Linked DNA regions of Homo sapiens: region 1 is linked to region 2. The links are contacts of gene promoters, found by promoter capture Hi-C in blood cells and fetal thymus (Javierre and others, 2016). All regions are on one chromosome and are shown on one strand. The core of a region is centred on a gene start or on the middle of the fragment in contact, and the rest is flanking DNA. Distances in the headings are between cores, read along the strand shown. Region 1 holds the start of CARNMT1-AS1 (CARNMT1 antisense RNA 1). Region 2 holds the start of PTAR1 (protein prenyltransferase alpha subunit repeat containing 1).

Region 1 (6,068 bases), core at 1,541-4,040, 5.2 Mb before region 2:
TATGTTCAAAAAGTTACCTAGATTTGGAAGATAGAAAAAAAGACCCAAATGGAACTAGAGATGAAAAGTACATTGTGTAGGATGAAAAAATAGTGTGTGGGGTTAACAGCAGATAAGGTACAAGAGAACGAACTAGTGAACTTGAAGAAACAGACACTACCCAAAACAAAACATTGAGGAAAAGGCAGCACTGGGTTTTTGTTTTGTTTTGTTTTGTTTTTGTTTTTTTGCCATCCTTTGCTCATGCTTTTGCTATTTTACACTTTTGGACATTCATACTTGCTATTACATCTGACTAGGATCACATGATTTGCCCCCCCTCACTTTCCTCAGGTCTTGGCCCAAAAGTCTTGTCAGAGATGCCCATCTTGACCTTTTATCCTGCCTTATTTTTATTTTTCCTCAGCACCACCTGATAGATGTGCTTATTTATTGTCTGTCTCCCCCAAGATTCCTTGGACAGTCATGGGGTAGGGATTTTTGTTTTACTGTTGTAACCCAGTGCCTGGTCTGTAGCAGATGCTTAAAATATGTATTCAAAGAATAAATTGAGTGAATGTGATTATGAAAGAATACAGTTATATTTCTGGTATGGGTACCTGTATAGATGACTGATGACACTGGAGGATGGAATATGAGATGCCTACAGAACACCCAGATGGAAATAATGGACACTCATTCAGGCAACGAATATTTACTGAGCACCTACCATGCTAGTCACTTTGAGTATATGACTGGGGACAAAACCCAAAAAACAAACTGGAACCCTACCTTCAACAAGCTTACTTTCTAGAAAGGGAGACAATAAGAGTAATAAGTAAGTGAAATATATAATAGATTAGAAAGTAATCATGCTATGGGAAAAGAGGGGAATCAAGAGTCAGGAGAAATGTAGAGTGAGTTGCAATTTTAAATAAGGTGGTTAAGGTAGACTCATGAGAAGTCACATGGATCTGATGCTCAGAGGAGAGGTTTATCTGTTAAACTGGCAATAATCTGCCCCAAAGTTTTTGGGATCAAATGAGATATGTAAAAGTTCTGGCAATTAAAAAATTTTAAACTACTTCCCCACCCTACACTGCTGTGAGGCTTCAGTTAGTCTGAAACACACAAGTTTAAAGATAAGCAGAATAAGTTTGTGTGTATTCCTTTTTCAGTAAGAAGAAAAAAAGTTTCCCTTCTTTGTTGTTTTGTTGTAACTAATGACTTCTGAGTTATTATCCACAAAATTATGGGATATGTAGAATAGGTAGAAGATCCTATTACATCAATAAAAAATGCATTTAGATAGGGCAGGGGGAGGGGTGCAAGGTATTTATGTTTTACATAAAGTGGTACAATGTTAGCTCGAACTAGACTGTGAAAAAATAAAGATGTATATGAACAGTCCTTATGGCAACCACATTATTAATTCAAAGAGGTATAGCTAAGTAAATACCAATAGGTTAACTTAAAATGAAATTCATAACGATAGGAAGGAGGTAGAGTAACAAGAAAGGAAATTTTGAAAGTATTTCAAACTGAAAGATAATAAAAATACAACATACCAAAATTTGTAGGATGTAGCCCAAGCAGTGCTACAGGGAAAGTTACAGCTTTAAGTGTTTATTTTAGAAACTAACAAAGACGGCTGGGCACGGTGGCTCACGCCTGTAATCCCAGCACTTTGGGAGGCCGAGGTGGGTGGATCACCTGAAGTCAGGAGTTTGAGACCAAGCTGGCTAGCATGGTGAAACCCCACCTCTACTAAAAATGCAAAAATTAGCCAGGTGCGGTGGCATGCACCTGTAGTCCCAGCTACTCGGGAGGCTGAGGCAGGAGAATCGCTTGAACCTGGGAGGCAGAGGCTGCAGTGAGCCAAGATCGTGCCACTTCACTCCAGCCAGAGTGACTCTGTCTCCAAAAAGAAACTAACAAAGACTACAATCAGTGACCTAGGTTCTATTAGAAGAAGCTAGAGAAAGAAGAGCAAAGTAAATCCAAATTTAGTAGAAGCCAATGAAATGGGAAAAAGAGAAACTAAGAAAATATTCCAACAAATGTGATGAATGAAATGGACAAATTCCTTGAACAAGTGGATCTGGTACTACTTACAACTTAGGGTAAACTAATTTCAAATTCTACTTCTGGGGCCTTAAAAAAAAAAGAACCCAGAGCAGCAACAAAAACTCAGAAAATGTTATTTAAAAAGAAAAAGAATATTGTCTACAAAAATTATAAAGTGCCTAGGGATAAACTTAACAAAGATATAAGCTCTTTATGTTGAGAAATATAAAACTTTATTGAAAGATTTTTAAAAACTTAAATAGTTATATTCTTGAACAGGAAATGAGCTTGGTATTGTAAAGATAATAATTCTTCCCAAATTGATCTATAATCTCAATGCAATTATAACCAAAATTCCAAAAGGGTAACTAAATGTTACAGAGGATGCTATTATGGAAGAACAAAGGGCCAAGTATAGTTGACACACTCCTAAAGAACAAGATGTCAAAGACTGCTCTCAAAACTTTGATCATCTTGATGGTGGTTATGGTTTCACAGGTGTATGAATGTCAAATTGTACACTTTATATGCACATTATTGTGTGTCATTTAGACCTAGGTAAAGCTGTTTTAAAAACAAAAACAAAAAAAAGCCCGGCAAAACAAGCCTGGGCAACATAGTGAGACCTTGTTGCTACTAAAAATAAAAAATTAGCTGGGTGTGGTGGCACAAGCCATGGGCCCAGCTACTTGGGAGGCTGAGGCAGGAGGATTGCTTGAGGCCAGGAAGTTGAAGCTGCAGTGAGCAGTGATCACGCCACTACATTCCAGCCTGGGCAACAGAGCAAGACCTGGTCTCAGAAAATATATTAAGCTGGGTGTGGTGGCTCATGCCTGTAATCCCAACACTTTGGGAGGCCAGGGCAGGCAGATTGTTTGAGTTCAGGACTTTGAGACAAGTCTGGGCAACGTGGCAAAACCCTGGCTCTACAAAAAAATTTTAAAAATTAGCTGGGTGTGGTGATGTACACCTGTAGTCTCAGCTACTCAGGAGGCTGAGGTGGGAGGACTGCTTGCCCCTGAGAGGTCAGGGCTGCAGTGAGCTGTAATCATATCACTGCTCTCCAGCCAGGGCAACAGAGCAAGCCCCGTTTCAAAAAAAAAAAAAAAAAAGTTATTTAGCAATATACATACAGACATACAAATGGAAGAGTTAAAAAGCAAAGGAATGATTAACTCAACATGTAAAACGGTAATTACCGGGAGTGAGGGAAAGGGAAGGGTATGTGCCAGTGGGGAAGGGACGCATAGGGAGCTTGTCATGTTCTAGTATAGGTAGTATTCTATTTCTGAAACAGAATGCTGTATGTCTTACTATCATTCTTTTAACTACATGTGTATTTTATACAACCTTTTGCATATATGATAAGTTTCACAATTTTGAAAAAATGAGCGTTTGTAAAGAGGAACACAAAAGAACCAACCATTAGCTAAACTTATTATTTTGGGGGTACTCAAAACCTTTCAAACAGCACTTGATGACTACGATTAAGATCTTTCCTGCTGATTTAAAAATGGCAAAACTCTTCCTCTGTTTGAGACAGACGGGTTTTCAATTTATTTTTTTTTTTTTGGAGACAGGGTCTCACACTGTCACCCAGGCTGGAAGTACAGTGGTGCAATCTTGGCCTCTGCCTCCAGGGTTCAAGCGATCCTCCCACCTCAGCCTCCCTGGGACTACAGGTGCAAGGCACCACCTCTGGCTAATTTTTGTATTTTCTGTAGAGATGGGGTTTCACCATGTTGGCCAGGCTGGTATGGAACTCCTGGGCTCAGGTGATCTGTGCACCTCATCTTCCCAAAAGTGCTGGGATTAAAGACGTGAGCCACCGCACCCGGCCGGTTACCAATTTCAAACAAGAAAAGTAAAAACCAAACAGAAAAGCTATTGCTTACTACCCTAACTTGGTACATTTCTGTGCTTGTTAATAACTAATAATTAACTTGTCCTCTCACAACCACCTTGAGATGCAGGGGTACAGGGTAAATTAGTACTGAGATAGTACCTAGCACTAAAATAGAATTATCTTTCTTGCACACTTTTTCTACAGAGGATGATAGTTTTTCCCTTCAAAGCACTGGTAATAGTCTTATTTTCTTCCTTCCATTTCTGCTTACTTGGTTACTGTCTTTATCAAACTATTAAAATAGTAAATACGACCAGATGCGGTGGCTCACACCTATAAACCAAGCACTTTGGGAGGCCCAGACAGGAGATCGCTTGAGCTCAGTGGGGCCCGGCTGCAGTGAGCCGTGATGGCACCACTGCACTCCCGCCTAGGTGGCCGAGAGAGACCCTGTCTCAAACAAAATAAAAAATAAAAATAATAAAATAGTAAATATACTGCAATTGTCTCCACCTCACTTCACCTGACAACACTATTTTGCTGTAATGGCCATAGAATCTTGATCTGACCACCGCCCATAGTAAGCAGGGAACTCAGCCTTCCAACATTAATTAAGAGCCCAACAATTTTAGGTTTCAGTTAGAAAGGACAGCTGCGCTTCAGGCTTGGTTCTTGCCAACTACTCAGCTATTTTGGATGAGCTGCACATTTTGTCTGTAACTTCCTCCATAAGTTTTTAATCAAGAGATCTTCCAGGAATGTAGGGCCTGCTTCACCTTCCACAGCAGCTGCGCAAAACATGCAAAACATACACTTCGATTTGTGTTTTCTGTTAGCTTTAGCTACTTCCCTCAGCCCAGACTCCCTTCAGTCTTTTGTTTTGAATAACAACCTACTGTGAAGCTTCTTAAACACTAGTTTTATTTAAAGCTTGTATTATCCTTTTCCTTTTTTTTTTTTTTTTTTTTGAGACGGCATCTCGCTCTGTTGCCCAGGCTGCAGTGTAGTGGTGCGATCTCTGGCTCACTACAGCCTCCACCTCCCAGGCTCAAGTGAATCTTCCTCCTCAGCCTCCCGAGTAGCTGGGACCACAGGGGCAGGCCAACAAGCCTGGCCTATTTTTGATTTTTTGTAGAGACGAGGTCTTGCTATGTTGCCCAGGATAGTCTGGAACTCTATTATAATCTTTGTCTTAATCTCATGGAGACGCCCCCGTGGTCACTGACTGGAGGAAGGAAATACACATTTTAAAGGTTTTAAATTTCCTATAGAAGGGTCTAGAACGTACCGCGCTATAACGAACATAGTAGTAAGACCACCGCCACACTCCTGAGGAAACAAGGTCACGCCCCTCTGCGGGCCGCTTGATCGGGTCTTTAATTAATCCCGCCGCGGCCTTCCCGCCTACCCCCGAGCGCGCACTTCCGGTCGCGAGGGCGCTCGGGAGCGCGCCCCGCGAGCCTCCACCAACCAGCGGCTCCGCCTGGCCAGACAGAGTGCGCGCGCGCACGTTGTGCGCAGGTTCGAATCTCCGCCGCTTCGCGGTTGCTTCTCAACGTCCGGGCCGCATCTCGGCGGCGGCGAGGGCTGAGCGCGGGAGCTGCCTCCGAGCCGGAGCCCCAGCCCTAGGCCCTGCGCGAGCTGCCCCGCCCTACCCCCTCCAGCGTCCTGTCGCCTCCTCGCCCGACTTCGGCCTGTCCCTCTCTCACGCGCTCAGTCCTCGCTCTTCGCCCCCCGCAGCTATCGGCACTCGGTCTCCCGCGCCTGGCGGGCTCCGCCCGAGCCTCTGGGCCCATGGCCAAGCGGCGTGCGGCCGAGCCGGTGACGTTCCACGTGCCTTGGAAGCGGCTCCTGCTTTGCGACTTCGCTGAGCAGCCGCCGCCACCGCCTCTCTGGATCCGGCCGCCCGGGGTCGCGCATGCTGGGCAGCTCCTCGGCGTCCCAGAGCAGCACCGAAAGCGCAAAATCGACGCAGGGACCATGGCAGAGCCCTCGGCTTCGCCCAGCAAGCGCCGTGACAGCGGGGACAACAGCGCCCCGAGCGGCCAGGAGCGTGAGGACCACGGTCTGGAGACAGGCGATCCGCCGCTGCCGCCGCCGCCCGTACTGCCGGGGCCGGGGGAGGAGCTCCCGGGCGCCCGGCTCCCGGGGGGCGGTGGCGACGACGGGGCGGGGC
Region 2 (6,433 bases), core at 76-2,575:
CCATTCTCCTGCCTCAGCCTCCCGAGTAGCTGGGACTACAGGCGCCCGCCACCGCGCCCAGCTAATTTTTTGTATTTTTAGTAGAGACGGGGTTTCACCTTGTTAGCCAGGATGGTCTCGATCTCCTGACCTCATGATCCACCCGCCTCGGCCTCCCAAGGTGCTGGGATTACAGGCGTGAGCCACCGCGCCCGGCCTTTTTTTAAAGACGGAGTCTCGCTCTGTCGCCCAGGCTGGAGTGCAGTGGGGAGTAGCTGGGATTACAGGCGCCCGCCACCACGCCCGGCTTTTTTTTTTTTTTTTTTTTTTTTGTATTTTTAGTAGAGACGGGGTTTCACCGTGTTAGCCAGGATGGTCTCGATCTCCTGACCTTGTGATCCGCCCGCCTTGGCCCCCCAAAGTGCTGGGATTACAGGCGTGAGCCACCGCACCTGGCCAGATTTCAAGGGTGGAAGAATAAAACTGAACCAAGGGCAGCCAGATTTTTCTACCAGAGGTGCAAAAGAAAACCTGATACACAAAAATTTTAGTTATGGCATTTCAAAATCCTAAATAAACTAGAAAGCTCGTTTTTCCTACAAAAATTTATTTTTGCTATTATGAACAAACCCTGTCAGAGCCTTGATCCTTTTTTTTAAATTCCAAAATTGACGCAAAGGCTACCAAATGCAGTACAAAATGAAGTCGAAAAATCTAAAAACGATTTCACTTCTACTTCCTACATACAGATGGCAAATAACTTTTCCTTCACTTTCCTTTCTCTTCCTTTAATAAATTTAAGAATTTTAATTAATGTTTTTTAAAAAGGCTGCTTTCAAGTTCAGAGACAAAAATTGGCACAGTTAGAAAGGAGGTCACCAACACGGTCAAATAGGGACTCGCTCCGCCGCAATGCCTCTGGACCTCTTCATCTCTCAGGCTGGGAAAATAAAGCAGACAAGCTCTGAAAAACGCCCGGGACTAACTGTTAAGAGGCCCTGCATCCTCAGTTGAACATTCCTTCAGGAATGCCCGGGGACCTTGCTGGGGGGGTTCAGGAAGGTGTCTGACTCTCTGGGAGTGTGTCTTGAGGTTTCGCCTAAAACTTAAAATAAGAAAATCGGAGGCCTGAGAGAACTTTGCAAACAAATGTCCAGCATCTTCTCTGACGCTTAGAAAGTCCGTTACCCGCGCGGAGGCGAACTTCTCCACTCACTGGAAGGCCACCAACCCTAGCTAACGCCACGCCCAGGCCGCCAACTGGCTGACCCGGAAGTGCTCGGCGGCGGCCGCGGCGGCGGGGACGCGGCCTAGCCGAAGCACCCGCGCGCGCGCGCGCGCGCTCGTTCTCCGCGGAACTCCCGCCGGCGGCCCGGCTCACGCGGAGGCGCGCCCGAACTGTCGCGGCCGCCGCCAACATGGCCGAGACCAGCGAGGAGGTGGCGGTGCTGGTGCAGCGGGTTGTGAAGGACATCACTAACGCCTTCAGGAGGAACCCACACATGTGAGTCGCGCGCCTCCGCCGCCTCCGAGGGTCGTCGGGAGCGGGCGGGGGCGGGGCCAAGCGTCCACCCGACCTCGGGCGGCGGGCGGACAGCGGGTCCTGGCCCACGAGCCCTTCTAGGGAGGAGGCAGAGCCGTGTCGGGCGGGACCGTTGTCGGCCGCCGCTGGCCCGGCTTTCCGCTACCGGGACGCGCTCGCGGTCGAGTCCCTAGAAGTGACCTCAAAAAATCAAAACGGAACTACTTTCTCTGTCCCTCCCCACCTTTTCATAGGAGTTCACGAAACTCCAGAGACGTCCCCCGTAGGTCGACATCCTTCCTGTGTTTAAGGTACTCGGGCGCACACAACGATGTGGGTCCGTGTATGCCTTGTAAACACAACTCTTGAGATTCATCCCGGACGTTGGCAAGAGGGGGTAACCGATCCTCTTACTTTTAATGAGCCTCAAACCCCTCAGTTTACTAACTAAAGGTGGTTTGAGGCTGCTTTTGACTTTAGCCTTACTTGCCACAAAATTGTAAAGTGACTCCGATAATACATTGTGTTTTGAAAGGTGAACAGAACATTCTCAAGAGAAGCTTCTGTGGGCGCAGTGTGGAGTCTGGGATAAAGCAAATGAAACCTTGATACTTTTTAGCATAAGCGGATTCATAGTTACAAGGAGCATGTTAACTCATTTTTATCCCAACACTGCTGCCCTCTTTAACGGGACACTGCAGAACTGACATATGTATCTCTTCCATTTTACTTGAAGTACTGTGGGAAGATACCGCAAGAGTCTACTTTTTGTAACACTTTGCTTTTATGTAACAAGTGAAAAGAAAGCTATTGAGAGAGAGAGAGAGATCTACATTATACAAAGGTGTAGGGAAGAAGCAACAATGTACCTCCTTTCCCATACCTCTTCCTCCTCAAAGAAAAGAAACATGGCATCCAGTTCTGCATTACTTTCATTTTAGCTAGTTGTTTTTGGAGTTTATTTTTTTTTTTTTTAGTTTATTATTTTTTATTATTATTTAATTTATTTTTATTTTATTCTTTAGACTGGAGCTCATGATTTTTTTTTTTAAGTATTCTAACCGGTTCAGCTTTTCTGCCTAAAAAAGTTGCCAAACGTGTATCTTACCAAAGTGTTCTTTTCCTCCAAGGTGATGATTGTAAAACAGTTAAGAAGCCGTTGGATGTTTTGCTCCCTTGTGGCACACAATTGGAGACGTGCAACTGTGCCACATTAAAAACAAAACACTGCTGGCCTCAAAACACACCTGCCACCTCTGACAGCATCCACTTCCCTCCCCCTTATGACTGCTGCCTTTTTCAAAATGAGAGTGTTTGGAATGATTTCCTGGCAGTATCCATAGTGGTTGCTGAGCCTTCTAAAGAATGCTTTGATGCCTTGCTGTATATCAGTCTTTCGATTTCTTTTTGAGAATGGGAGCCTTAGTGCAAGTAAGAGACGACCTCAAAAAAAAAAAAAGTTGGACAAATGAAGAGTGTATTTTCTCATCACTGGTATTTTTCTAGAAGAAATTACAGCAGAGATTAGAAATCTAATACAAAATGTCGTAATCATCTTATGTTCTCTTCTTTGAGGTAGACTAAAAGAGCATCATTATATTTGAAGAAACCAAGATTGAATGTTCATTGGCTTGGCAGTTTTTAACACAGTGCAGTTTGGAACATGTCCCAGTTCTTGTGGATCACATTTATGGAAACTCTTAAAGGACTTTAATGCCCCTCCCTAATCCTTTTTCTACTGTAAAACCTCATTAATATATCCTCAATGTATAATTTATTAGTAATAAGGATTTGGGTCATTCGAGATTTAAAACTTTGAGATAAGTTGGATATTCGGAATAATGTAATGATTTGTAATATAGGTCTTAAACATTTAAATAGCTTAACTCATTGTTTAAGACTAGTCATCAGCTATATTTGAATACATATTCCCCACAGTAAAACTATTTTCAATAATATTACTATGCATCTTTGTAAGTGCCTTATAATTTGGGCTTTTAAAAATTGCCTGCGCTTTCTTCCCTTAATTTAGCCCATTTACTCCCAAAATAAAGAGGCTGTGTTTCTTTTTTTTTTTTTAAGGCATTGTTTATCTGTAACGTTTGTATCTAACTTTACTGTATCTAATTACACTTTCAGTATTATACAAAAATTTTTTTGTTTTTCTTGTCCAAACTTAAGATCGGTTGTAATTTTATTGGCCAACATCTACTTCATTAAATACATTGACTTTGTTTATGTAGAAATATTTAGCCAGAAGGAGTTGAGGATGCAGTGGTGAGATGTGGATTTTGTTACTGTATGATGTGAATAGGTACCTTCTCTCAGCCTCAGTTTCCTCTTGATCTTGTGAGGCTGATGAAAACAGGAAAATCACCTCACACAGTGGTACTTAGTTGCCACTCAATAAATATTAGACCTTCCCTGAATCTCTGTGTTCCTCACCAAAAATATATTGGACAAATGATTGGTGAATATGAAGCACTTTATAAACCTGGATAATACTATATAAATGCTGTTTGTATGGTTGAGTATTAGATAATCATATTGGATTCTCTAAAACTGAAAACTTGACCTAGGGATAGTCTTTAACTTAGTGTATGGACCCTGTGCTAATGTAGAAGACAACAGTTTATAATGTAAACAGTCACGTTAAAATTAATCTTATCCAGCAAGTTATTGTTTTTTCTATTAAATATTGAACTCACTGTTTATGAAGTGTTGTGGGTACCATCTTTACTGTGTGAAATAGAAGTTTAAAATACAGTTCTTGAACCCAAGGCACTAACAGAAATTTCTGTAATGGTGGAAATTTTCTGTGTCTGTGCTGTTCCATATGGTAGCCACTAGCCATAGTAGCTATTGAGCAATTGAAGTGTCCCTAATATGAACAGGGACCACATTTTAAATTTTATTTAATTTAAATGGATTTGTACGTAGTGGCTCCATGTGCCTAGTGACTACTGTGATGCATAGTGCAGGTGTAGATGAGACCTAAGACTAACTGCATGAACAGTAAATTAACCCTCCAAAGTAGTTTATAGTAAAAGTTGGATAGGAGCATGATGAGCAAGTGCTATGGGAGTCTAATAGAAGTGGAGAGGAGGCTGGTTATGTCTCGGATAGGGGTGCTAGTGGAGGTGGGTTTTAAGCCAAGTATTAAAGTCTGGGTAGGATTTGTAGTCTCAGAGGGAGCCAGAGACCTCCACAGGGAGCAGTGAATTGACCTAAACAAGCAAAGTGTGGCTGAGAAGGTACAGTAGGGCCAGATTATGGAGATCCTTGACTCTCATTTAATTTCTTTCATTCCATTCATACATTCTGCAAAAGAGTACCTCCATTTGACAGGCACAATGCTGGTCTCTGGGTATACAGGGTTAAAAACTGGGTGGTTTAATGAACAAACCACACATGGTCCCTATCCTAATGGAACTTTAATCAGTCAACATACAGATTATGAAAAGAGTCATAAAAAGTAAGAAGGGTACTTAGAATAAAAACAGGGAGACCCAATTTAGATTATAAGGTCAAGAGGTTCTTTCTGAGGCAATAGCATTTAAACTGAGTGAGACATGAGGGGTGAAGAAAAGCTGGCTCAAGGATGTACACTTCTAAGGCAATGGGTAGGCACCAGTGAACATTTTTTAGTAAAGAATGATGAAAGGCAATTTTAGATCGTCTGCAAGGTGAACTGAAGAATAGAAAGCCAGAGTCTACTGGGCTTCTTATACCTGATTTTTATTTATTTAAATAATAGTGTAGTATAGTTGTAAAAATTTGAGTTTAGAGTTTGATAGTCTAAGCTGTCAAACTGGATTTGAGTCTTTGCTTGTCGTTTATTAACTGAGTAGACTTAGACAAGACTCTTCCTCTGTAAAATGGGGTCAAAATTCCTACTTTATGAGATTATTGTGCAGAATAAAATATATGTAAAACCTAACCGTGCATGGCAAGTAACAATAAACACTAGTAATTTGTGTAGCTTTTTCTAAATAAGGTCAGTAATATAATTTCAGTGAAACATAAGTTGATAATCTTTGGAATTAATGAGAAAGCCTATAAGGTTTCTGAAATATCTAAATCACCAGGAGAATTTTAATTATCAATATGCAACGGTCAGTTCCTTTAGATATATTTTACTAGCTTTCCTTTTTGGTCATGCTGGAAAGAATTCCAGTTCTTTTGGGGGGTGGGAGCAGAACAAAATGAAAATAACTACTATTTAGATTTAAAATGTTTTTACCATTTCCTGAATCCTTGGACTGTTTTCTGTTTGGTTGCTCCACACTATAGGATTCAGTTTGAGTATTTGGGTACCATCCATCCCTCCCAGAAGGTAAGCTGGTTGATGCAACTTTTGTGGATAATAAGTGGCTCTGTTCTGGTTGATGGTGTTTCTGAGAAGTATAGACAGAGAAGCTGTCTAAACATAAGGAACAAAGTCAGTATCAGTGTTACATGAACTGTGAACATCATCTGGAAGCCAATGAATGGATCCCTATTGTGAAGTGAGGCGCTCAAAGAGATGTATCATACTTTGATCTTAAGTAAATGTGCTGGTTCGTTCCACATTGCTCTGCCTTTGGAGCAGTCTGTGATGAAGGTGACCTAAAAAGTGAGCACCATTAGAACTTGATTGCTGTCCCAAACCATCATATCTTTAAAAATCCTATGATCTTCTTAGTTATGCAGGTAATTGAATACCTTGTTAAATACCAGGAATGTAAATGGCCAGAAACCTAACAGTGTAAAAGAGTGAAATTTATTAGTAGTTCCTCTCATAAGACTATTTTGTAAAGAAATAACTAGAGATATGTTTGATATTTATAGCACATTCATTGCAACCATTAAAAATATCAAAATTGATTATGTGGGAAAATGTTTAATGGGAATTGCTCAGTTTTTTTCCATAAAGGATTATAGAATATGTTC

The links. Contacts are between HindIII fragments. The CHiCAGO score rates a contact against its expected background, and 5 or more counts as called.
Region 1: a fragment that was not itself captured here is called in contact with the fragment with the promoter of PTAR1 in region 2 in 4 of 17 cell types (total B cells, naive B cells, naive CD8 T cells and 1 more); the score reaches 12.9 in total B cells.

The regions. Positions count from the first base shown.
Region 1 is chr9:74,952,230-74,958,297 of GRCh38, reverse strand. CARNMT1-AS1 (CARNMT1 antisense RNA 1) reads right to left here and starts at 5,333. Exons shown (of 5, transcript NR_121183.1): 1 at 5,181-5,333. It overlaps C9orf40 (chromosome 9 open reading frame 40), which reads left to right and starts at 5,386. Exons shown (of 2, transcript NM_017998.3): 1 at 5,386-6,068. The coding sequence starts at 5,687. RefSeq lists silencers at 5,405-5,614, 5,885-6,068. The HindIII fragment of the contact is 4,014 bases long and covers 784-4,797 here.
Region 2 is chr9:69,754,903-69,761,335 of GRCh38, reverse strand. PTAR1 (protein prenyltransferase alpha subunit repeat containing 1) reads left to right here and starts at 1,325. Exons shown (of 8, transcript NM_001099666.2): 1 at 1,325-1,483. The coding sequence starts at 1,398. It overlaps LOC105376076 (a long non-coding RNA gene), which reads right to left and starts at 1,241. Exons shown (of 4, transcript XR_929910.3): 1 at 863-1,241. RefSeq lists enhancers at 1-303, 1,778-1,827 and a silencer at 1,168-1,637. The HindIII fragment of the contact is 9,606 bases long and covers 1-2,063 here.